Regions from separate parts of the Homo sapiens genome. Here region 1 is linked to region 2. The links are contacts of gene promoters, found by promoter capture Hi-C in human tissues and cell types (Jung and others, 2019). All regions are on one chromosome and are shown on one strand. The core of a region is centred on a gene start or on the middle of the fragment in contact, and the rest is flanking DNA. Distances in the headings are between cores, read along the strand shown. Region 1 overlaps PLEKHH2 (pleckstrin homology, MyTH4 and FERM domain containing H2). Region 2 holds the start of DYNC2LI1 (dynein cytoplasmic 2 light intermediate chain 1).

What was found. The method cuts DNA at HindIII sites, captures the fragments that hold promoters and counts their contacts. A contact is called where the count stands out against the background at its distance.
Region 1: a contact is called between a fragment that was not itself captured here and the fragment with the promoter of DYNC2LI1 in region 2, in 1 of the 25 tissues and cell types used here (liver).

Annotation. Positions count from the first base shown.
Region 1 is chr2:43,705,081-43,712,493 of GRCh38, reverse strand. It overlaps PLEKHH2 (pleckstrin homology, MyTH4 and FERM domain containing H2), which reads right to left. Exons shown (of 30, transcript NM_172069.4): 10 at 6,078-6,172; 11 at 4,949-5,093; 12 at 2,368-2,504; 13 at 2,164-2,274; 14 at 1,919-2,005; 15 at 111-269. Among named protein-coding and RNA genes, the nearest start is that of C1GALT1C1L, 32 kb to the right of the region's middle. The HindIII fragment of the contact is 5,564 bases long and covers 1-4,979 here.
Region 2 is chr2:43,771,179-43,777,951 of GRCh38, reverse strand. It overlaps DYNC2LI1 (dynein cytoplasmic 2 light intermediate chain 1), which reads right to left and starts at 3,913. Exons shown (of 13, transcript NM_016008.4): 1 at 3,806-3,913; 2 at 1,053-1,170. The coding sequence starts at 3,813. LOC105374571 (a long non-coding RNA gene) reads right to left here and starts at 3,799. Exons shown (of 2, transcript XR_940033.2): 1 at 3,406-3,799; 2 at 2,960-3,079. It also overlaps the pseudogene RN7SKP66. RefSeq lists an enhancer at 3,978-4,027. The HindIII fragment of the contact is 10,095 bases long and covers 1-6,773 here.

The sequences.
Region 1 (7,413 bases), core at 948-3,447, 64 kb after region 2:
AGATCATATCAATATTCAATATATGTATATGCTCTGACATCCCATTTTCAGCGATCATGGGCTCATGCCCATAGCTGCCTGGGACATTGCTATGCACAGGAGGTTCCTACCTTAGTGAGCAATCCCTTCATGGTGGGTTTGCCCTCAGGCTGCAGGGAAAGTGGGTTGGCAGCTTGTACTCGAAGAACATTCTGTAACACTTTAATCCACTCTTCCAATATATTGGGAGAATCTGCAGTCAGATAGTATGTGTGTTTTTCAGTGGTCAACTAGAATGCAACGAGAAAGGTATAGGAAAGAAAACTGTGAAGATTTAGGATTGTTAGCATTTCCTTGTTCATTATTCAAACGTCATTACTTAACACAGAAGCAAACATGCTAAATCTCAAGTCCCAGTTTCTAAATAAATGACTCCATATCAGTTAGAATATTTTAACCACTTTGTGAGAATTACAGCAATTAAATTTTTGTGGAAATAACTTTGTTACTCCAGTTTACCTAATTTTGGGGTTATGATTTTATATCTTGTTTATTTGTCACATTTTCCCTTTCTTGCTTAAATGTGTTACAGGTTCCTACTTTTCTTTTTTTTTTTTTTTTGAGACAGAGTCTCTTTCTGTCGCCCAGGCTGGAGTGCAGTGGCGCCATCTTGGCTCACTGCAAGCTCCGCCTCCTGGGTTCACACCATTCTCCTGCCTCGGCCTCCCGAGCAGCTGGGACTTACAGGCACCTGCCACCATGCCCGGATAATTTTTTTTGAATTTTTAGTAGAGACGGGGTTTCACCGTGTTAGCCAGGATGGTCTCGATCTCCTGACCTCATGATCCGCCTGCCTCAGCCTCCTGAAGTGCTGAGATTACAGGCGTGAGCCACCGCGCCCGGCCAGGTTCCTACTTATTGAAATGAGGAGCAGAATGATTAAAGACTATAATAAAATAGCATAGTTTTAGCAACTAAAGAAGAGGTTTCTTAATACAAATGACAAAATCAACTATAAATAAAATAAGAAGATCTTGCATATAAGAAGATAAATTATTGGAACGAACATGTGATTAGATATTATGAACTCAGAATGTTCCAGTCTCAAATTAGCCACACTGCAAATTTTCCAAATTTCAGAAACTTACAAATGATTCTTAACTGCCATGCCCAAAGACAAAGCTTTCCTTGATTCTCCTTTCTAAATTTTTGAGAGGTTTTCAGGTACAAATCACTGGAAACATTGATAATGTACCTTTCTGGCAAAGTTGTCCTCCACCCTCCAAAGGAGCAATATAAGAAAATAATGGTTATTGAAGACATTTCAGAAATAAAGTGTCTGACTTTAAATTACATATACTAGAATATCTCAACAGCCTGTGTTTTAAATTTAACAGATTTCTGGCAAGACTGGCCTTATGTGTGAGTAAAATGGGCAGCAGCTGCCCCTACAGTGTGACTTGCTTGGCAGCACACTCCCTCTGCTCACCAATATATTTCCCACTTTGGTGTTATGGCATCTGAAGTTCATATAAGAACTGTCATTTTCAGATTCTATATTAAAATACAAACATTCCTGAATTTCACAGTACATTATATAACTAACATCTTATTGAGAATTCATTTACCAGATAACCCTTCCTTAAAATAGCTTCACAGTTGGACAGCTGAAAATACCTAGGAGATTAAATATGAGGAAAGAAGAGTATAAAGGAAGAAAGGTAAAGTGTGGTGGGAGTTACTCAACACACACCTAACTTACATTATAGTTTTAACCAAAAATTCGTGGAGTTTCACATACTTCCAAGGCATCAAACTAACCCCCCAAAGTGAATAAAGAAACACTGAATTATCCTATCTCCTTTCCATTAGGTTGGATAATTGAGAATTGAGTCTGGCATGATACAAAAAAAAAAAAAAAAAAAAAAAAGTTAAGTACCTGAACTGTTTGTTTGTTATCTCCTCTTAAAATACTACAGGATGCACTAAGTTCAATATGGCCCTGGGGTTTTCTAATTACATCACTCTGTATGAAACAGAAAAACAAATGGAAAGTGATTAACTTTAACAGTAATAATAAGGAATGCTTTGTATCATTACTTGCATTATGGGAAGGAAATCAATCAGGCGTCTGATTTATAGTTTGAGGAATTACGTTCTAAACAGAAAACACTTTCCACTCACCGGAGATTTGTAGTAAAGTAATTCACCACCTTTAAGAACAAACCACCGCCGCTTCCAAGACTTGACTTTACCACTCATTTTTAATAAATAACCAGATTTTTCCAGTGGTTCCTAATTTTTAAAAGATAGACAAAAGCATTTTCAGTTTCCTTTTGGAGGCTCAATCTGACTGACTGCTTTTTAAAAATCATATTCAATATTTACATTTTTCCCATTATCACTGGAAGATGAGCAAGTTTTTGGGAGCTTCTGCTCTGGCTGTGAGTACTCCGTGTCTGTGGAGTAAGCATCAGGAGGAATAGCATAATCACTTTCAGAAGCCACAGAGGAGAGAGACACACCTAAGAGAACAAAGAAAGAAATCAAGTCAGTATTTAATACTGGGGAGGGCCAAACACCAGCTCTGAGTGCTCCTACAGAATGCAATTATTCCTAAATCATAAGCCTCCCTAGACTAGATTTATTCTCATTCCTTTGGCCATAAATAACTTTTTTTGAGACAGAGTCTCGCTCTGTCACCAGGCTGGAGTGCACTGGCACAATCTCGGCTCACTGCAACCTCTGCCTCCTGGGTTCAAGCGATTCTCCCGCCTCAGCCTCCCGAGTAGCTGGGGCTACAGGTGTGCGCCACCACGCCCAGCTAATTTTTGTATCTTTAGTAGAGATGGGGTTTCATCATGTTGGCCAGGATGGTCTCGATCTCTTGACCTCGTGATCCGCCTGCCTTGGCCTCCCAACATGAAGAACTTTTAAAGCAGAAAACAGAACTAAGAGGTAGGGACTGTCATGTAAATCTCTAAGGAAGTGAAAGGAACAGGAATAATATTTTGGTATGATTACAATCACACAGCTATTTTACATATATAAAATATATGCAAGAGTCTACTCATGTATATTTTATTAAGAATTAAAAATATGTGTATTTACACATTGACATATAGGCAAACAAATGTTGAACCTTAATTTATCAAGATTTTCACAATCACATTTTAAATTTCTTAACTTCTGTAATCACTTTTAAAGTAACCTCACATTTTAAAAAAACACAATTCAGTAGTATTTTTTCATTCAAGTTCCATAAGCTACTAAGCAGTTTACAGATTTTAAAAATATTTCATAAAAGAGAAACAATAAGATTGAAAGATATAAACAAACTATTTCTTTCACTTGCCAGCAGCTATAACATAAAATTCAATGGAACATTTATACAATGATTCATTTGCCTTTACAGAAAACTACCTGGGAGTTGCAAGCCACATTTCATGAGTCACTACAATTGGAGATTTAGAATATATTAAATAAAATCAAGGACTTAGGTAATTATTTATAAAAGTATCCAGCAATTTTTAAAAATATGTATTAACATTTAAGGGACATATTAGAACAATGCCACTCTTGTGACACTGCTTTTTATTTGACTCAGACAAGTAACAGTTGCTATAATATCTTCATTTTTCATAGAATAAACAAAAATGTAGACCTATAGGGACCTCAGTGATTGTCATGGCTAAGGCCCAAGGAGACTAAGGCCCAGAGATTAAAGGATTTGTCCAAAGTCAAAGAGTTAGGCAGGGGCAATGTTGGAACACAAGTCTCAGGCTCCCAGGACCAGGGCCAGTGTGCCAGGCACTGTCCTAGATGCTAGGGATAGAGCAAACAACAAAAATATTGGCTCTCGTGGAACAAATTCTAGCGGAAGGAGACCACTGACAAACAGGCAGTAGGTGGTATGGAACAATAAAACATAGAGCAGACTAAAGGGAATAAAAAGAGCTGGCAACAGAAGAAAGACAAAGGGCTGCAATTTGAGTGGTGTGGTCAGGGTGGACCTCATTGAGAAAGCAGCGTTTGCTGATGGAGGTGAGGGAGTCAGCTATACGGACATCTAGGGGAAGAATACCAGCTGGAGGAAACAGCAGTGCCAAGGTCCTGAAATGCAAGCATGCCTGGCATGTCTCAGAACAGCAAGAGGGCCAGTGAGACTGGAGCTGAGTACAGAGAAGAAAGGAGATGAGGTCAAGTACGTGACCGAATCCTGGAACACCTTATAGCCGTTGTGAGGAGCCACTGCAGTGTTTCCAGCAAAAGTGTGTCATAACCTGATTCTGGCTGTAGCGGGGCAAGTTGAGAGCAAGAAGACCAGTGGAAGCTCAAAATATGAAACCAAGGAAGGCTGAGCAGCTCCAGTTGAAGCCGAGGGGATTGGAAGTATCCAGAGGTTCCATGGAACACAGTTTGAAAGCCAACAGACACACCATGCTGCATTAAGGGCTTTTTATAACATACAGATGTCATTTGGTGGAATTAGATCTCTCTGTAACCACTACCTACACACAGAATGTCTTCAAAATCCACTAAAAATCATAGACATATTCCAAGTAAATGTTGTTCTCCACTTTAACATCAGATTAATTGACAAATTTTAAGGTATATTTTCTGCCAGTTAGCAGTGTAACAACTTTAGCTGAAATAAGTCTATTTCACAAATGCCAAGAAAGAAACCTCATTTTGGCCAATTATCTCACTTCATTCCAACAATAAAGTGATCTCCCTCTCACAGACAATAAAAAGCTGAAAAAAAAAAACTATATAATTTGTCTGAAATCACAGAGAATTAAGAAGAGAATTAGGAATATAAACATATCAGTCATAGGCTAAAGTTCTTTTCACTAGGGTCTGAAGCAAGTTCTTGGATTTAAAAAATAATCCTGTAATGGAGATAAAATTCCCAATTAATATTCAGAATGATCTGGAGTTGCCTCATATGCCTGCGATTTTCCCTCACCTCGTTTCATGGCTCTGGGGCTGCCTGGCCCACTCCTACTGCGTGAGTCTGACTCTGACGTCCGGGAGCTGGATCTGGAGCTGTCTTCTTCCTCTGACCCAGATGAGTCATCCAGGAAAGGGCTGCTACTTATTTGGGTCGCCTTCTAAAGAAAAGTGGAACAACCTCCCTGTATCCATCCCTAATGTTACCACTCATCCAAGAAAAGGCTGCTAGTTATTAGGGTCGCCTCCTAAAGAAAAGCAGAGCAACCTCCCTGTATCCATCCCTAAGGTTATCACTCTTTTTAGATAACAGAAAGTTTTACAGGAAGAAGTCATAGCATAGAATTTTTTTTTTTTTTTTTTTTGAGGTGGAGTCTTGCTCTTGTCACCCAGGCTGGAGTGCAATGACATGATCTCGGTTCACTGCAACCTCCGCCTCCCAGGTTCAAGCGATTCTCCTGACTCAGCCTCCTGAGTAGCTGGGATTACAGGCACCTGCCACCACGCCCGGCTAATTTTTATATTTTTAGTAGAGACAGGGTTTCGCCATGTTGGCCAGGCTGGTCTCGAACTCCTGACCTCGTGATCCGCCCGCCTCGGCCTCCCAAAGTGCTGGGATTACAGGCGTGAGCCACCGTGCCCAGCCAGCATATGATTTTTAAAAGGAATTTGGGAATGTATTTTGCTGTTATCAAAATCATGTTGTTAAACCCTGAATTCTAATAAGCAATTATAAAAGATGCCTGAAAATATAAGGTTGTCAATACCTGCAATCCTTCTTTTAATTAATACTTCAAGCAAGGAAGGGGTACCCTGGCACTGATACAAAGATCTGCCTAAATTAGGAGTTTTCATTACATTATTAATAATATGTCTCCTTTAAACAATTCATGGCCATGGGGAGGTGGGGGAATCACATGGGACACAGTAAAAACTGACTCAGACCTCTAACATTCTGATAAGTGTCTTCTGCAGACCTTTCCATTCCTTCTTTTTTATGATATGTTAACGTGAACTTGTAAAACTTTCTATAAAGGGAGAGCCTGTGTAAAATGTTAAGAATGGAATCTGGAGCTTGAATTAACAATTTCCTTGATCCATCATGAAGAGAAGCACATGTTTTAACAATAACAATAATGAGTTACCCCCTTCAAAGTTGTATACACTGGGGTGGTCATGTTCTTGTATATCAGAGATGTATAAAGTCCTGATGTAGTATAGGAAAGGGTTGCAGCAGAATCTGAAACAGAAAAACAGGAAACAACATTTTAAAAAACTTCTAATTAGCACATTGGTCTTTTTCTTATGAATACAAATGAGCATAATCTCCATTTAAAAAGCAATTCGATTAATACATGATTACTAACTGTATAGTCTACTTTACAGATTATGGCATTTACAGGTTTATTTATACACTTTTTTACATGGTTCATTATTTCCTCATGTGTGCTAGTTCCCCAACTAGACTGCAAGCTCTTTGAGAGCAAGAACCATAGCTTTTATTTCCTTGAAATCTCCATGCATGCTTTGCTCAGGCTGGGCAGAACTAAGTACAGGCAACTGCTTACCAACCAATTCAGTAAGCAGTACATAGGAAGATATTCTCTGACTATTCATAACCCTATTACCAGCATGGTATCAAAACCACTGTTCTGGTGGGGCATGGTGGTTCCCATCTGTAATCCCAGGACTTTGGGAGGCTGAGGCAGTGGATCGCTTGAGCCCAGGAGTTTGAGACCAACCTGGGCAACATGGCAAAACCCTTTCTCTACTAAAACCAAACATGGTGGCATACACCTGTAATCTCAGTTACTTGGGAGGCTGAGGCACAAGAATTGCTTGAACCTGGGAAGGGGAGGTTGCAGTGAGCCGAGATCATGCCACTGCACTACAGCCTGGGCGACAGAGCAAGACTTGTTCTCAAACAAAAACCAAAACCAAAACCACTGTTCTTAAGCCTTTATCAGGTAAATCTGATGTTGAAATATTGGAATGTAATTTCCTAGCTAAGTGTAGTGGCTCACACCTGTAATCCTAGCACCTTGAGAAGCTGAGGCAGGAGGATTGCTTAAGGCCAGGAGTTTGAGACCAGTCTGGGCAACACAGTGAGACCCCCATCTCCACAAAAAATCTTAAAAAGTATCAAGGCATGGTGGTATGCACCTGTCATCCTAACTAATCAGGAGGCTGAGGCAGGAGGATCGCTTGAGCCCAGGAGTTCAAGGCGGTAGTGAGCTATGATCACACCACTCCACTCCCACCTGGGTGACAGAGTAAGACGCTGCCTCAAAAAAAAAAAAAAAAAAAAAAGGATAAAATTTCCTGAATGGAAAGAACTGCAGATAGCTGAACAGGAACTGAATATCAATAGTTACCCCTAACATATGAATTAGTGGTGGGATAGGGAGGAGGTGGTAGAAAGAACCACAGGAAAATTTCTTGTTATTCCAGACAGTTCTTGTTGTTTGGTTTTATTTTTTG
Region 2 (6,773 bases), core at 2,664-5,163:
ACGTATTTGTATAATTGGGATCATGTCATGTATGACACTTGTGTCCTGCTTTTTTAATTCAGATTATATTCTTACATCACTAAAACCTTTTTCATGGTTGTACAGGTATTTCTCCCAATATATGTAATCTTAATGTTGTATATAAAACCCCCAATGGAGGGTGTCCGGTTGTGCAGAGAGGGCCTTCTGGGACTCATCTGGAGACAAGACGGGTGCTCAGGCTGCCTGGGCGCTGACGTTGCCCAGTGAACACGTAGCCCTGCTGATGCAGAGTGTAGTTTCTGAAAGCTTCGTATTTGTCAATGCGCTTAAGTGGAAGCATGGAGCACAGAAAGTGAACAGGAATTTGAACCCCACACAGAAATGAGCTATGGCACTACATGAATTTCAGCATCTTGCATCTGGCAAGCCTTGACCTTTTTGTGTCACCAGTCATTTTGCCTTCCTGGCAGGAACTTTGTGGGCCAGGCAAAGTTGCATGAAGATATGATGCATATGTTCCTACACTGTGTGGCCACTTCCACGCCTTTCTGTATGCTTGGCCAAGTAAAACAGAGACTTACAACAAGTGGGGAGGGGTCCCTTCCTACCAATCAGTGGTCCACTGGAAATGCTGCCATATTTTCCCCAGATATTTCAAAATAATTAATAACCCTGTAACAAATATCATTGACACAGTTCAATTATTCCTTTAATGAGATTTCTAAAAGTAAAGTAACAATCTAAAATATAAAATTGTTAAGATACTGACTTACTGATTTAGAGACTGACTTAGATATTTACATGAATCCTAGCTTTTACACTCAATTGTGGTAGAAGACCTGAATATTTTCAAATCATGAAATAAAAAATAGTTTAAATATATTTTTCTAAAATTTTGTTTACTATTATAGTTTTTCCTAGATTAATAATAAGCACTTTTTAATTCATGCTAAACCAGATTGGTCATCTGGTTAAAGTGTTGAAGTATCTACATTTTAATCAAAGTATTAACAGATATTTTACCAATGGTTGTTAAATCATCACAATAATTGAAAAAAAGAAAGCATTACCCCATTTTTACTGCCAATGAAGAAAACAAATTTTTCTGCAATTTCAGCTCCATCACCTTCACTTCCATTAATTCCCCTTTTTTCCACTTCAGCTTTTGCAATTTCCCAGAGAGTTTCACTACATGAGAGGCAGAAAAAACAAAATTGAGGGAAAAAGAATTCTTTCAAATATTTATTTCAAGCTCAGAGAAATTTTATTTCAGTATAATTTATGAAACAAATGAACATTATTTTCTGAGGAACAATAATCTGGTAAAACATCTGAGGATTAGTCATTCTATGATTTTATTTTTCTTTTGTTGCTTTGAACTAGTTCTCTGAAGAATACTGAAATTGATAAGCAGAGCCTTTATTGCCAGGATTTGAGGCTGTCACATTTGGGTCTTCCCCTACGGTTCATAGCTGTGTATGTCAGCTTCTCAGACACATATGGAGGTACAATGACTTTGGGAATGTACAACTTGAAAACCACAAACATTTAAGTCACCTAGGAAGATGGGAAAAGTACAAAACCAGTGTATCAAATAATCTTTCCTCCCTGAAACATTTCTTTTTTGTGTTTTAGATTATGTTTTTAGGTAAAAAAAAATTTTGTTTAATATAAAAGTATATGGGAGGCTGAGGCAGGAGGATCACTTGAGATCAGCCTAGGCAATACAGGAAGATCCCATCTCTACTACTGCTACTACTACTACTACTACTAATAAATTAGCATGGGGGAGGGATAGCATTAGGAGAAATACCTAATGTAAATGATGAATTAATGGGTGCAGCAAACCAACATGGCACATGTATACATATGTAACAAACCTGCACGTTGTGCACATGTATCCTAGAACTTAAAGTATAAAAAAAGAAGAAGAAGAAAAGAAAACAAACAAAAAAAATTGGCTGAGGCTGGGAGTGGTGGTTCACACCTGTAATCCCAGCACTTTAGGAGGCCAAGGTGGGTGGATCACTTGAGGTCAGGAGTTCAAGACCAGCCTGGCCAACATGGTAAAACCCCATCTCTACTAAAAAAAAAAAAAAAAAAAAAAAAAAAAAATTGGCCAGGTGTGGTGGCGGGTGTCTGTAACTCCAGCTACTCAGGAGGCTGAGGCATGAGAATCACCTGAACTCAGGAGGTGGATGTTGTATTGAGCCAAGATCGTGCCACTGCACTCCAGCCTGGGCAACAGAGCGAGACTCTGTCTAAAAAAAAAAAAAAGAAAATAAAAAAAGAAAAAGAAAAGAAATTAGCTGGGTGTGGTGACATGCACTCGTGGTCCCAGCTACTAGGGAGGCTGAGGCAGGAGGATTGCCTGAGCCCTGGAGGTCGAGGCTGCAGTAAGCATGTTGACATCACTGCACTCCAGCCTGGGTGACACAGCAAGACCTTGTCTCCCCCCGCCAAAAAAAAACCATAAAGAAAGAAAGAAAAAAAAACCCTAAAACCACAAACATTTTGAAAACAATCCTTTCATTGATTTCTTTACACAGATATATAACTTTACACGATAAAATCATATATATATTAATTAAAGCCTAAGTGAAAATGGAATATTAAACTAAAAACTAACCATGGGCAAGACCTGATAGGTCCTAGCCTGATTCTGCTACTTCCTATGTATGTGAACTTGGGAAAACTACCTAACCTCTTTAAATCCTTCATTCCTTTATTAATTAAACAAATATTTATTGAGCACCTAATATATGCAATCCTCTGTGCTATTCCCCAGGCTCAATTGTTTCTCTATCTCTAAAAAGCCAATAAAAAAGAGTATCAGCTTTATAGGATTGTCATAATTGTTAAAATATATATGTAGTTTAGGGCATGGCCTATACAATTACAAAAATTATTGAGGGCTTGTAATTATACTATTCAAGAACCAGGAATAAGAAAAAGGGTCAAAACAGGAGTCCTTAAATGTTTGCACTAAAATTCATGCATTTATTTCACAGGTGAGCCTTCAGAACTCAGTTTCGGGCTGTTTGCTCTTCATTTACACAACATTCTTTCAAAATATGAGGATCTGCTTTCCAAATACCTAGCAGAGAGGAAAGACGGAGGTGCTGCAGTCAGCCACGACACCTGCGGAAATCGGGAAGTATAACCATAGCTTTATAACTAACCAATTATCCCTTGATGGAAAGCTGACAATTCTCCACACTATCCCAAGGAGAGAAAAAGATTTATCCTGCTCTGTGATGCACTCCCTGACCCCTCTCCCCGACGTGCTTAAGCATAAATTGTTGAGAAAAGGTTTAGGAATATCTTGTGAACAGGTAATTAAAATGAATATCATAGAATTGAACAGCTAGAATATAGTTTACAAACCCTCTCCCGTTTCCCCCCTTAAAAGTGATGTTATACTTTCCACAGTGCCTTCCAAGTTTCCCCTCGCTTATTACTGCGAACCCCCGCACCAGGAGGGGAGGCCCCTGGGGAGAGGAGGCTTTGTGGTCTAGCTCATCGCCGAATGTCCTGCTCCGGAAGTAGTCTCTGGCCTGCAAGAAACTTTTATTCAATCATTGAATGGGTGGAGTTGCTGATCTTTCCAAATCTCTCACTTTTCTACCTAGGGAACTTTCTTTTCTTTCCTGTTTGCGGCAGAATCTTTATGCTCAAGGCTGATTCCTAGGTCCCCGACCCTGCATATCCTGGTGGCAAGTAGCCACCCCCACAATCTTCCAACAGCTGGTCCCGCCTGGGCTTCCTCTCTCCAGGAATACTCTCAGTAGCCTTTCCCACGCAAGCCGGGTTCAGGGAATACCTGGGCATCGTCGACGGCCTGGCTGCCGCAAACGTCACAGGCTCGGAGTAGTGACCAGCCTAGAATCAGGCGGCGAGCTCCGCAAGGAGTCTGGGAGTGAGGCCTTCTGGGTTGCCATGGGAGCGACGTCGCGGCCGCGGTTGCGTGGGGAGACGGGCATCATGGGAAATGTAGTTTTCAGGAGTCCTTTTACATCTCATTCTCGGCCTCAAGCCTTAGGATTGCTTTTAGATCCCAAGTTAGTAACTCCTTGTTACCTCCTAGAACGAGATGATAAGGGGTTACAAACCTGGGATCTAAAAGCAATTTTCTTTTATTTTAAAATTTTTTTACTGGGTGTCAACTATATGCCAAGGGTCTCTGCTCTCTCTCTCTCTCATCTTTCACTTTTTTCTTCCCAATCGCCATGATTTAGGAATAGAGGGTGTAACAATCTCTTGAGCTGTTTTCTGCTAATTTACTAGAAGCAAGGAATATTCGGACTTTAAAATTTAAAATAAGGCACGTAATTTTAATATTTTCCAACTTTCTAGATGTTTAGTTGTTTCAAGTTTTATTCAATAGCACATTGTGTATTTATTAATAAATTAATGAAGCAAGTGCATCTCCTACATACTTCATTTACTTTGTGAATGTAGATTATTTTCTTTTGGAACTTTGTGGTCTCTTTATAGATCTGCAGGAGTGTCCAAATAAATAACGAGCATTGAAATAAATAACAATCATTGAATATGCAAGGCCCTATGCTACACAGAATAAGGAATAAAGAGATGAGTAAGAAAAGATCGCTGCCCTTAAGAAAGACACACACTCAGCTAATTATAAGCACCTAAGGAAGTGAGTGATCTAAACTATTGTATAGAGGTACAAAAATTGCATGAGGGCAAGTGACCAATTATGCCTGAAGGAGATGGTGAAACCATGGCACTGATAGTATTTGGTCTGTATTGAATGCTGAGTAGACTCAGGCTTTCTAGCCTAAGATGCCCTGAATATTTGAAGGAGATACCCTCCCTCCAGTCCTCTACTATTCGGCTTGATTTCTATGGTGCGATGTTCAAGTACATGGGCTTTGGCGTGAGATGGACCTAGGTTCAAGTTCTGACTTGGCCACGCTGGCTAAGTTGTCACATTGCCACATCGGGTAAATCACTGAATTTCTGATCCTGTAAAGCGGGAAAGATTGTGAATCTTAAATGAGATAAATGTAGGTAAAACATAACTTACGTGGGTGTCTGACACATTATAACTGCTTAATGCTTGTTATTATTGTGTGATAAGCTGCTGGTCAGCAACTTCGAACAAAGAAACACAAGGAACACATTCCTGGAAACAAGGCTGATGGTTGATAAAAGGGTGTTTATTTCAAATAAAGTCATTGGGAACAAAATCCTCCCAACACCTAGGTATATTTTGGAGACGTAAAGAACACTAAGCTGCACATAGGAAGGGAATTAATGGGAGTAGAGCTCACCGAAGAAAGGATGATTTTTCAAAGGAGGCTTATACATCTGTCATTGAATCAACAGCTATAGCCTGGTGCTAAGCCAGACTTTAAGCTCACAAACTGATATGGGACAGATTGTAATGAATTGTAATGATTTGGGTTCTAGAACTTCAGAATACTTTTGCATGCTAGTTAGGAAGGCCTGTTGATATTGATAGCAATAACGACAGCTAACATTTTTGCCAAGTGCTTGCTATGTACTGGGCACAATACTCAGTACGAGTACTTCAAAAGTACACTTGTTTGAATAACGGGGAGAGGTGTTTGAAGGAGGGAGCTTGGTAACCAGGAAAGTGAAGGTGATCCGGCTGGGCCCTGATCAGCAGCATTGATTCAGGGTTGATTCAGTTGATCTGACTGAGCAGGTGAGTTCCCCTTTCTTCCCTCATTCCTCTTGAGGCCTTCATACTTGGGCAAAGAAAGTGACTTTCCTGGGTAGATGAAGATTGTTCTTAAGGTAAGAATGGAAGGAGAAGGAGACAATTTTATGCTGCTTTCTGGATGGAATGAGCAACAGTGCAGAAGGGTAAAGGCGTGTGCAGGATGTATTTGGGAAACTGAATAGTTTGGGTTGCGATCATATAAAGTGCCTGGTGGAGCTACAGTGGAAGAGCAAACTGGGCAGGTAGATGGGGCTACTGTGAAGGATGCTGTAGTCTAGACTTTACTGTGTTGGTTATGAGAAACCAAATAGGGTTTAAAAATAGGAGTGTGCCATGATTAGACATGAATTTCAGTGAGATAATTTTTTGCAGTTGTGTGAAGGGTGGTTTGGCATCTAGAAGACCATGCGGAGGCTATTAACAATAGCTAGGAAAGTGACAGGCAGAGTTTTAAAATTTTTTCCCTTGTTTTCAAAGTTATATAAGCTAATTGTAGGGGAAAAAACGTATGCACAGAAAATTAAGAGGGTAAAATAAGCATAAGCCAGAAGTAGTAACTATTAGGTATTTTGGAAATACATTTGATATGTTTCATTCTAATCTTTTTTCTTACAAAGTTGAGATTAATTGTAAAGTTAATTAATGTCCTGATTTTAACATGTATTTCCCCATATCAAATTTTAAAAATGCACCATATCAAATTTTAAAACTGCATCATAAACATAACTTTGATGGTTGCAGAATATTTCACTGCATAGATTTTTCGTAATGTACTTAAGCATTCTCCTAATGTTGAGTACATTTGGGGTGGTTCAGAGTGAACACCTAACATGAGCTGGGTTAATCACAGTCCTTCCCTGAAATTTTTCAAACTAGAATTGGGAAAAGTAAGTCACTCTACCTCTAGAGGAAATTAGCATATTTTATGCTAAATGAATTATTTTGTAGTTAGTGAGCACACATCAGACACACATCAATATGAAGGGAAAGTGCTGGCATATGTCTCATGGTTCTAATTGTCCCTAAGGCTTGCCTGTGTCCTCACCTTTCTTATGGCTTGGTTGTTCAGCTTGCTCTT